Linked DNA regions of Homo sapiens: region 1 is linked to region 2. Evidence: promoter capture Hi-C in human tissues and cell types (Jung and others, 2019). All regions are on one chromosome and are shown on one strand. The core of a region is centred on a gene start or on the middle of the fragment in contact, and the rest is flanking DNA. Distances in the headings are between cores, read along the strand shown.

Evidence for each region. Contacts are between HindIII fragments. The study calls those that stand out against the background at their distance.
Region 1: a contact is called between the fragment with the promoter of GPR42 here and the fragment with the promoter of TMEM147 in region 2, in 2 of the 25 tissues and cell types used here (H1 embryonic stem cells and lymphoblastoid cells).

Annotation. Positions count from the first base shown.
Region 1 is chr19:35,368,949-35,372,487 of GRCh38, reverse strand. It overlaps GPR42 (G protein-coupled receptor 42), which reads right to left and starts at 1,420. Exons shown (of 2, transcript NM_001348195.2): 1 at 1,370-1,420; 2 at 1-1,139. The coding sequence starts at 1,128. The coding sequence ends at 88. The HindIII fragment of the contact is 14,423 bases long and covers 1-3,539 here.
Region 2 is chr19:35,543,204-35,546,875 of GRCh38, reverse strand. TMEM147 (transmembrane protein 147) reads right to left here and starts at 1,250. Exons shown (of 7, transcript NM_032635.4): 1 at 1,060-1,250; 2 at 919-988; 3 at 291-350; 4 at 68-204. The coding sequence starts at 1,136. It overlaps GAPDHS (glyceraldehyde-3-phosphate dehydrogenase, spermatogenic), which reads right to left. Exons shown (of 11, transcript NM_014364.5): 8 at 3,385-3,536; 9 at 3,049-3,211; 10 at 1,870-1,967; 11 at 1,557-1,778. The coding sequence ends at 1,706. It overlaps TMEM147-AS1 (TMEM147 antisense RNA 1), which reads left to right and starts at 847. Exons shown (of 4, transcript NR_038396.1): 1 at 847-939; 2 at 3,603-3,672. RefSeq lists a silencer at 669-1,248 and enhancers at 941-1,633, 3,348-3,672. The HindIII fragment of the contact is 10,627 bases long and covers 1-3,672 here.

The DNA.
Region 1 (3,539 bases), core at 171-2,670, 170 kb after region 2:
CAGCTCGCCACTCCAAGTCCCTCCTGGCGTGAGCGAGGAAGCGCCCTGAGGATGACACGCCAGCTACACCCTCCTCCCCCGGAGGACCTAGTTTTCAGCACAGGCCACCTGGCCACCAGTTCCACAGCCCTGTGAGTGTTCACTGGTCTTTCTTTCAGCTGGTCGGTCCGCTCTCTGCTCCTCCCCTCCCTTCTGCTCCTTCAGCTCCATGCTGCTCTCCTGCTGCCACTGGCCCCAGAGCCCACACAACCTCCTCAGCAGCTCATGAAAGTCGGCTTGGAACCCGGAGGAGGAGAAGTAGTAGACAAAGGGGTCGACACAGGAGTTCAGGGTGCTGAGAAGCGTCACGTAGATCCTCCACACCGGGCTTTCACCGCAGATATAGCCCACGACATGGGACACGTTGTAGGGCCCAAAGCAGACAAGGAAGTTGAGCAGCGTGGCCGCCACCAGCCCCGCCACCCTCCTCTGCCGGCGGTGGCTGCCCCCTCTGCCGAGGATCCACACCAGGCGGCTGTAGCAGTAGCTGGTGATGATCAGCGGGACCACAAAGAGGACCACAGCCATCTCCAGCCGCACGGGCAGGAGGATGGCTAGCTGGTCCTTCCAGAACTCCAGGTAGCAGGTCCCATTGGTGCCCTGGCTGTGGGAGATGTCCCCTGAGAATTCTATGACGTAGACCACGCTGCAGTGAGCAGAGGCCAACAGCCAGCAGGCCACACTCACCAGACCTGCCTGCCCCAGCCTCGGCCGGGTCTTGTACCACAGTGGGTGGGCCACACTCAGGAAGCGTTCAATGCTCACAGCTGCCAGGAAGAGGGCGGTGAGATAGATGGTGGTGAAGAAGATGAATCCAGAGAGTGGGCAGAGGATGAAGGGCAGGGGCCAGTGCATGCCATTGGCTGCCTCCACCATGCGGAAAGGCAGGAACAGCAGCAGGAGCAGGTCCGAGGCGGTCAGGTTGAGCAGGAGCACGTCCACGGCCACCGGGCGGCACCGCAGCTTGCCCACGAAGACCACCAGGGCCAGCAGGTTGAGGGGGAGCCCCACCAGGAAAGTGAGAAGGTACACCGAGAAGACGAACCAGTGATTGCCGGAGAAGTAGGACTGGTCGGGGCCTGTATCCATGGTGGTGGCCACTGGTGAGAGAGAGTAACATGGAGTTGGTAGTGGGGGCCCTAACGGCCTCTGGCCAGCAGCATCTCCCCTAAAAGGGCACGAGGTCACTACGCCCACCCCTCTTGTCTCTGGGTGCCTTCCAGGCGGGGTCAGCCTGCCTGTCTTCCTGAGCATGCCCTGTCCCCTGTCCCTTCCCCAGCAGAGAAGCACCAAGGTGCTCCTCCACCCAGCCCCTCGGGCCCAGGCTCACCTGCTTCTTTGAGACCCCAAATGCTCTGCCGCACAGCACCTTGCTGTCTCTCCAGACCTAGTGCAGTTGGCTATTTATCCGGCAGAACTGATAAAGACCTGGCCGTGCCCATGACATCACTCACTGTTGAGCAGTGGCACAAAGATGCCTTGAGCTCCGTTGCCAGGGCTGGTCAGTATGCAAAAAGGGGAACAAATTCCACAACTGCGTGCCTCCCTCCTTGCGCAGCCTCAGCTGGGATGCTCCAAACAGGCCCCAGCTGACGTCTTCTTCCCCTCCCCTCTCTTCCACTTGAATTTTGTCTGATTCTCTAGAATGGCACTTATCCAGTTTGCCTTTTAAGGGCACAAAGCATGAGCCAGTGACAGACTGGACTCCGTGAGGTCTGTTCCTTCCTGACTTTGTGATGTGGGGGAAGAGATGTGTCTCTTCTTCCTCCCCTACAGAACAGGGATTGTCATAGTACCTGTACCATATTTCAAAGCATGAACACATGCAGATTAAAACATATATACAGGTAGATTAAAATGTTAATAATATAGGTCAATTGCTTTTTGAAAATATTTATTTTAGATTCGGGAGCACATGTGCAGGTTTGTTACATGGGTATATTGCATAATACTGAGGTTTGGGCTTCTATTGAACCCATTACCAAAATTGTGAACATAGTACCCAATAGGCAGTTTTCCCACCCTTGTCCTCCGCCCTCCCTCCCCCACTTTGGAGTCCCCACTGTCTATGGTTTCCATCTTTAATGTTTGCGTGTACCCATTGTTTACCTCCCACTTAAAAGTGAGAACATACAGCATTTGATTTTCTGTTTCTGTGTTAATTCACTTAGGATCATTCACTTAGGCCTCCAGCTGCATTTATGTTGCAGCAAAGGACATGATTTCATTCTTTTTTATAGCTGCATAGTATTTCGTGATGTGTATGTACCATTTTTTCTTTATCTAGTCCACCATTGATGGGCACCTAAGTTGATTCCATCACTTTGCCATTGTGAATAGTGCTGTGACAAACATACACATGCAGGTGTCTTTTTGGTAGAATGATTCCATTTTATGAAAAATGACATTGATAATTTGGTAGGAATTGGGTGGAATCTGTAGATTGCTTTGAGCAGTATGGACATTTTAATGATATTGATTCTTCTAATCCATGAACATGGAATGTTTTTCATTTATTTGTGTTTTTTAGTTCTCCTTGTAGAGATCTTTCACTTTCACTTCCTTGGTTAGATGTATTCCTAGGTATTTTATTTTTGTGTGTGGCTATTGTAATTGGGATTCTGTTCTTTATTTGGCTCACAGCTTGACAATTGTTGGTATATAGTAATGCTACTGATTTTTATACACTGATTTTGCATCCTGAAACTGCCAGTCATTTATCAGGTCTAGGAGTATTTTGGAGGAATCTGTAGGGTTTTCTAGGTATAGAATCATATCATCAGTGAACAGAGATAATTTGACTTCCCCTTTCTATTTGGATGCCTTTTATTCCTTTTTCTTGCCTGATTGCTCTGGCTAGGACTTCCACTACTATGTTGAATAGGAGTAGTGGGAGTAGGCATCCCTGTCTTTTTCCATTTCTTAGGGGGAATGCTTCCAACGTTTGCCCATTCAGTATGATGTTGGCTGTGAGTTTGTCCTGGATGGCTCTTATTATTTTGAGGTGTGTTCCTTCGATGTTTAGTTTTTTGAGGGTTTTTATCATGAAGGGATGTTGGATTTTATTATATGTTTTTTTCTGCATCTATTGAGATGATCATATAATTTTTGTTTTTAATTTTATGTGGTGAGTCACATTTATTGATTTGCATATATTGAAACATCTTTGCATCCCAGGAATAAAGCCCACTTGATCATGCTGAATTATGATTTTGTCATGCTGCTGGATTTGGTTTGCTAGTATTTTATTGAGGATTTTTGGATCTATGTTCATCGGGCTATTGGCCTACAGTTTTCTTTTTTCACTGTGTCCTGCCAGATTACGATATCAGAATCAGACTGTTTTTGTAGAATGAGTAGGGAATCTCTCCTCCTCAATTTTCTGGTAAAGTTTCAGTAGGATTGGTACCATCTCTTCTTTGCAGGTCTGGTAGAGTTTGGCTGTGAATCCATCTGGTCAAGGGCTTTTTAAAGGTGGTAGATATTTTATTACTGATTCA
Region 2 (3,672 bases), core at 1-2,500:
CTCCAGCACCCCCGTGGAACCCAGGTGTCCCTTCTCAGGGGTCTGGGCTCCAGGCTGCTGTACGCACCGGGACATAATAAGCTCAGCAGTGGCCCAGCCCAGGGCAGCAACCATGATCTTGTACTCTCCCTTGCCGGCATTCCGGGACATGACAAGGTTTAGACCTATCAGGTCTGCCACATCCACGCTGGCCTTCATGAACTCCTGCGGGTCAGGTTGAGGCTTAAGTAAGCACAGGGGGACAGGGAGCCCCATTCCTGAACTCCCTTCCCTTCCCTGGCCCCTCTCACCCCAATGAAGTCATAGATGCCGCCTTCCCAGGTGGGAAAGAAAGTGGCCAAGAACAGCATCTGAGAACAGAAAGCAGAAAGAGGTCACTTCAAGGTGAGGGGATCAAGATAAACCACGTGGGATTTGTGGGAAGTTCGTGGGTAGGAAGAGGGCAGGACAGGTTCTGGGGGCCCATCTGGAAGAGGAACCACCAGATGGTGGCAAAATTACAGGAATCGGGGAGATAGAGGATAGGTCCCCGGGTCCCCGAGGGGGCTGGAAGTTTGAGTTCTGGGTGATCACAGGGCATCTGAGTCAGGTCTGAAGGTGCTGCTCCTTGGGCAGTGTTAGCAGCACGTACGGAATCAGTGATCACTCTTAACCGCACCAAAAAAAACCTGTTAGCCAACCACACTACTGAGGTTTTCTCAGTTTTACTAAGTGCTACGCAAAAGTTGCTTCTAGGTCTCTTCTCAGGTCGTGCCCTCTTTAAAGTCCATCCTCTCTAGGTATCCTGACGCCTCCCAGTGCGGAGTCCCGAGGGCGGTCCCACCGTGGGGCGGCGGGGGCGCGGATAGGCAACGGGGGCGGGTCCCTGGGTCTGCAGAGCCTGGGGGCCAGAACACGTGGCTTCCCGGTGGCCCTCACCTTGCAGAGTTGGACAAAGAGGTAGGTGACTCCAGCCTGGACGCATTTCCAGAAGGCGTTGTACTCGGACCTGGAGAAGCGGGAGGTGAGGGTCGGCCCGGGCCCCGCGCCCTCTCCGCCCCGCGCCCTTCCCGCACTCACAGGCCGCTGCACTTGTAGGTGATGAAGTAGGGGAAGTAGGCAAGAGCGAAGCAGTTCCCGAAGTGAAACAGGGTCATGATGCCGGCCGCCCGGTCCCGCCCGCGCGGGGATCGCGAGGCGGCGTCTCCGGGAGCGGGTCTCCGGCTCCGCCGGCTCTTTCGCCACGGCCAGGGCCTGGCACCCACCTGACTGGCGGGGGCCCGCGCGCGACCTTCTGGGAGCAGTAGTCCCGGCGCGGGGCGTCGCGCCCAGTGACGTCAGAGAGCCCGTGGCCGGCCCTGGGTCCCACCGCTGCCGGCCCAGCGCTTTGGGGAGTGACTTCCGGCCATGCGGGGCCTCTACCGCTGCCATCGCGGTCCCGGTCTCCTGAAGTGGAACCCGGCTTGGAGTCGAGCGCGACCCCTCGCCCGTGGGCGCAGGCGATCGAGTAAGGGTGGGGCGGGCCTCAAACCCGGATCAGAACCCGCCCTGACCGGCGCAGAGATACGGGACGCAGCCGTGAGCACTGTTTTTTATTTCACCATGGACCCATCGGCGTGGGGCGCCCGCCCCGGGTGTCCTTCCTCCCCCGGGCAGCCAGATGCTGGAACGGGAGGCACATGTTCCGGCCCCGGCCCCTGGGAAGGAAAGAAAGGACCTTCCCGTTTCACTTGTCTCGGCTGAACATGTAGCGGAGGAGGTCGACCACCCGGTGACTGTAGCCATATTCGTTGTCGTACCTGTGGAGGAGGGGTCGGGAGGTTCAAGGGGGTTCCTTCCGACCACCCCTTAGTTCCCCTCCCTCTAAGTCTCCAGCTCCTTCCCCCTTACCATGAAATGAGCTTCACGAAATTGTCATTGAGCGCAATGCCGGCCTTAGCATCGAAGATGGACGAGTGGGTATCACCGAGGAAGTCCGTAGAGACGACCTGGAAGTCAGAATTTCAAAGATAAGTGTGTCCGGCAGAGCAAGGACCTCCAGGAGCTGAGGCCCCGACTCTTAACTCTATCGCCCATCCATGCATTCATCTATAATATTTGATGTAGCCCTACTGTGTCCAGTCTCTGGACTGGAGGGTATGACCAAGTGCAGGGTATGACCAAGGCACTGTGTCAGGGTCTGGCCAAAGGGCACAGGTCACAAACACCCTCATGCTGTACCAGTACATCCCTTTCCTAGGAATAATGCAAGCGTTTGGAATGGGCCAGCATGGAGGGCCTCTCTGAGGGGTGGCCATGAGCCTGGGTCTAGATGACTAGAAAGATCTGACCGGCTGGGGCCCTCAGCACAGTGTCTGAGGTAGAAGGAGCTGCAGGAAGGGAGGACCTGAGGGTTTTAGCCCTAGTGTCATGAAAGGCCACAGGAGTGTTTTCAATCCTGAAAACGGGTGATGCAATGTGATTCCATTAAAACAAAAGATCCCAGTGACTGTGGGAAAGTGGACCTGCAGGAGTTAATGCAGGGAGACAGCACCAAGGTGGATGTACAGGGGTCCACCATGACCATGGCATCCACTCCTCACAGAGAAGGCATCTGGCCATGGCCTGGCCCTGAGCAAGTATTGAAAAAAATGGGAGCTGTTGTCTTTTGTTCACTAAGCATGTATTAGTCACCTGCTGTATGCCAGGTTGGAGCCACAAAAGTGAAAAGGCAGCCCCTAAATCCCTGTTTTCTTGGAGTGCACACACCACTGGGGCCAACAGTGACTATGAAATGAAATTTCAGGTGAGGAATATGGCCACAAAAAGAACATATTTTGAGGGGGTGCCTTGCTGAAGAGGGAGGTTCCTCCAGAGACTTGGAGGAAGTAAGGACAGACTGTATGGTCACCTGGCAAGGGAAGCATTCCAGACTAAAGGAACAGCAAGTGCAAAGGCCCTGAGGCAGGGAGATCTCCCTTCCTGCCCTGCAGTTTCTGACTTGGCACATTGAGAGCAGCTCCCTGGCAAGTGGAAATCATGTCCCTTCCCAGAGGGCTCCTCCCAGGGTCTCCTCTCCTCAGCCCCTACCTCATCCTCGGTGTAGGCAAGGATGCCAGCCATGGGCCCCTTGGCTGCTGCTTTTACAGCCTCCTTGATGGCTGAGTAGGGGGCAGGCTGGGCGAGGCGGCAGGTCAGGTCCACGACAGACACATCCGGGGTTGGTACCCGGAACGCCATCCCTGTCAGCTTCCTGGAGAATCCCCCATGAGGAACAGGAGTCAGAACTTAGGGACGTTGCCCTCCATTCCCCCTTTCCCTGTGGCTGGGCCAGGCCCCTGCTTTCCTCTTAAGGACTGAGGGCCGGGCCAGTCCAGTCCTCCTGGCGTATGCCCCCACCCTGGTTGCAGCTTCTTGTCCTCATACCCTTTGAGCTCTGGGATGACTTTGGTCACAGCTTTCGCAGCCCCAGTGGAGGCTGGGATGATGTTCTGGTGGGCACCCCGCCCATCTCGCCAGGCCTTCCTTGATGGCCCGTCCACTGTCTTCTGGGTGGCCGTGTAGGAATGGACTGTGGTCTTGGGGAAGAGAAGGACCAAGATGAGGCCTTCATGCTCCTAAGCTCCCATGCCTCTTTTTTCCAGGACTAAGTTGGTGGCCTAGGTGTGGAGGCTGGTGGGGCCACCACCACAGACCACAGGAGGGGATGTGTGC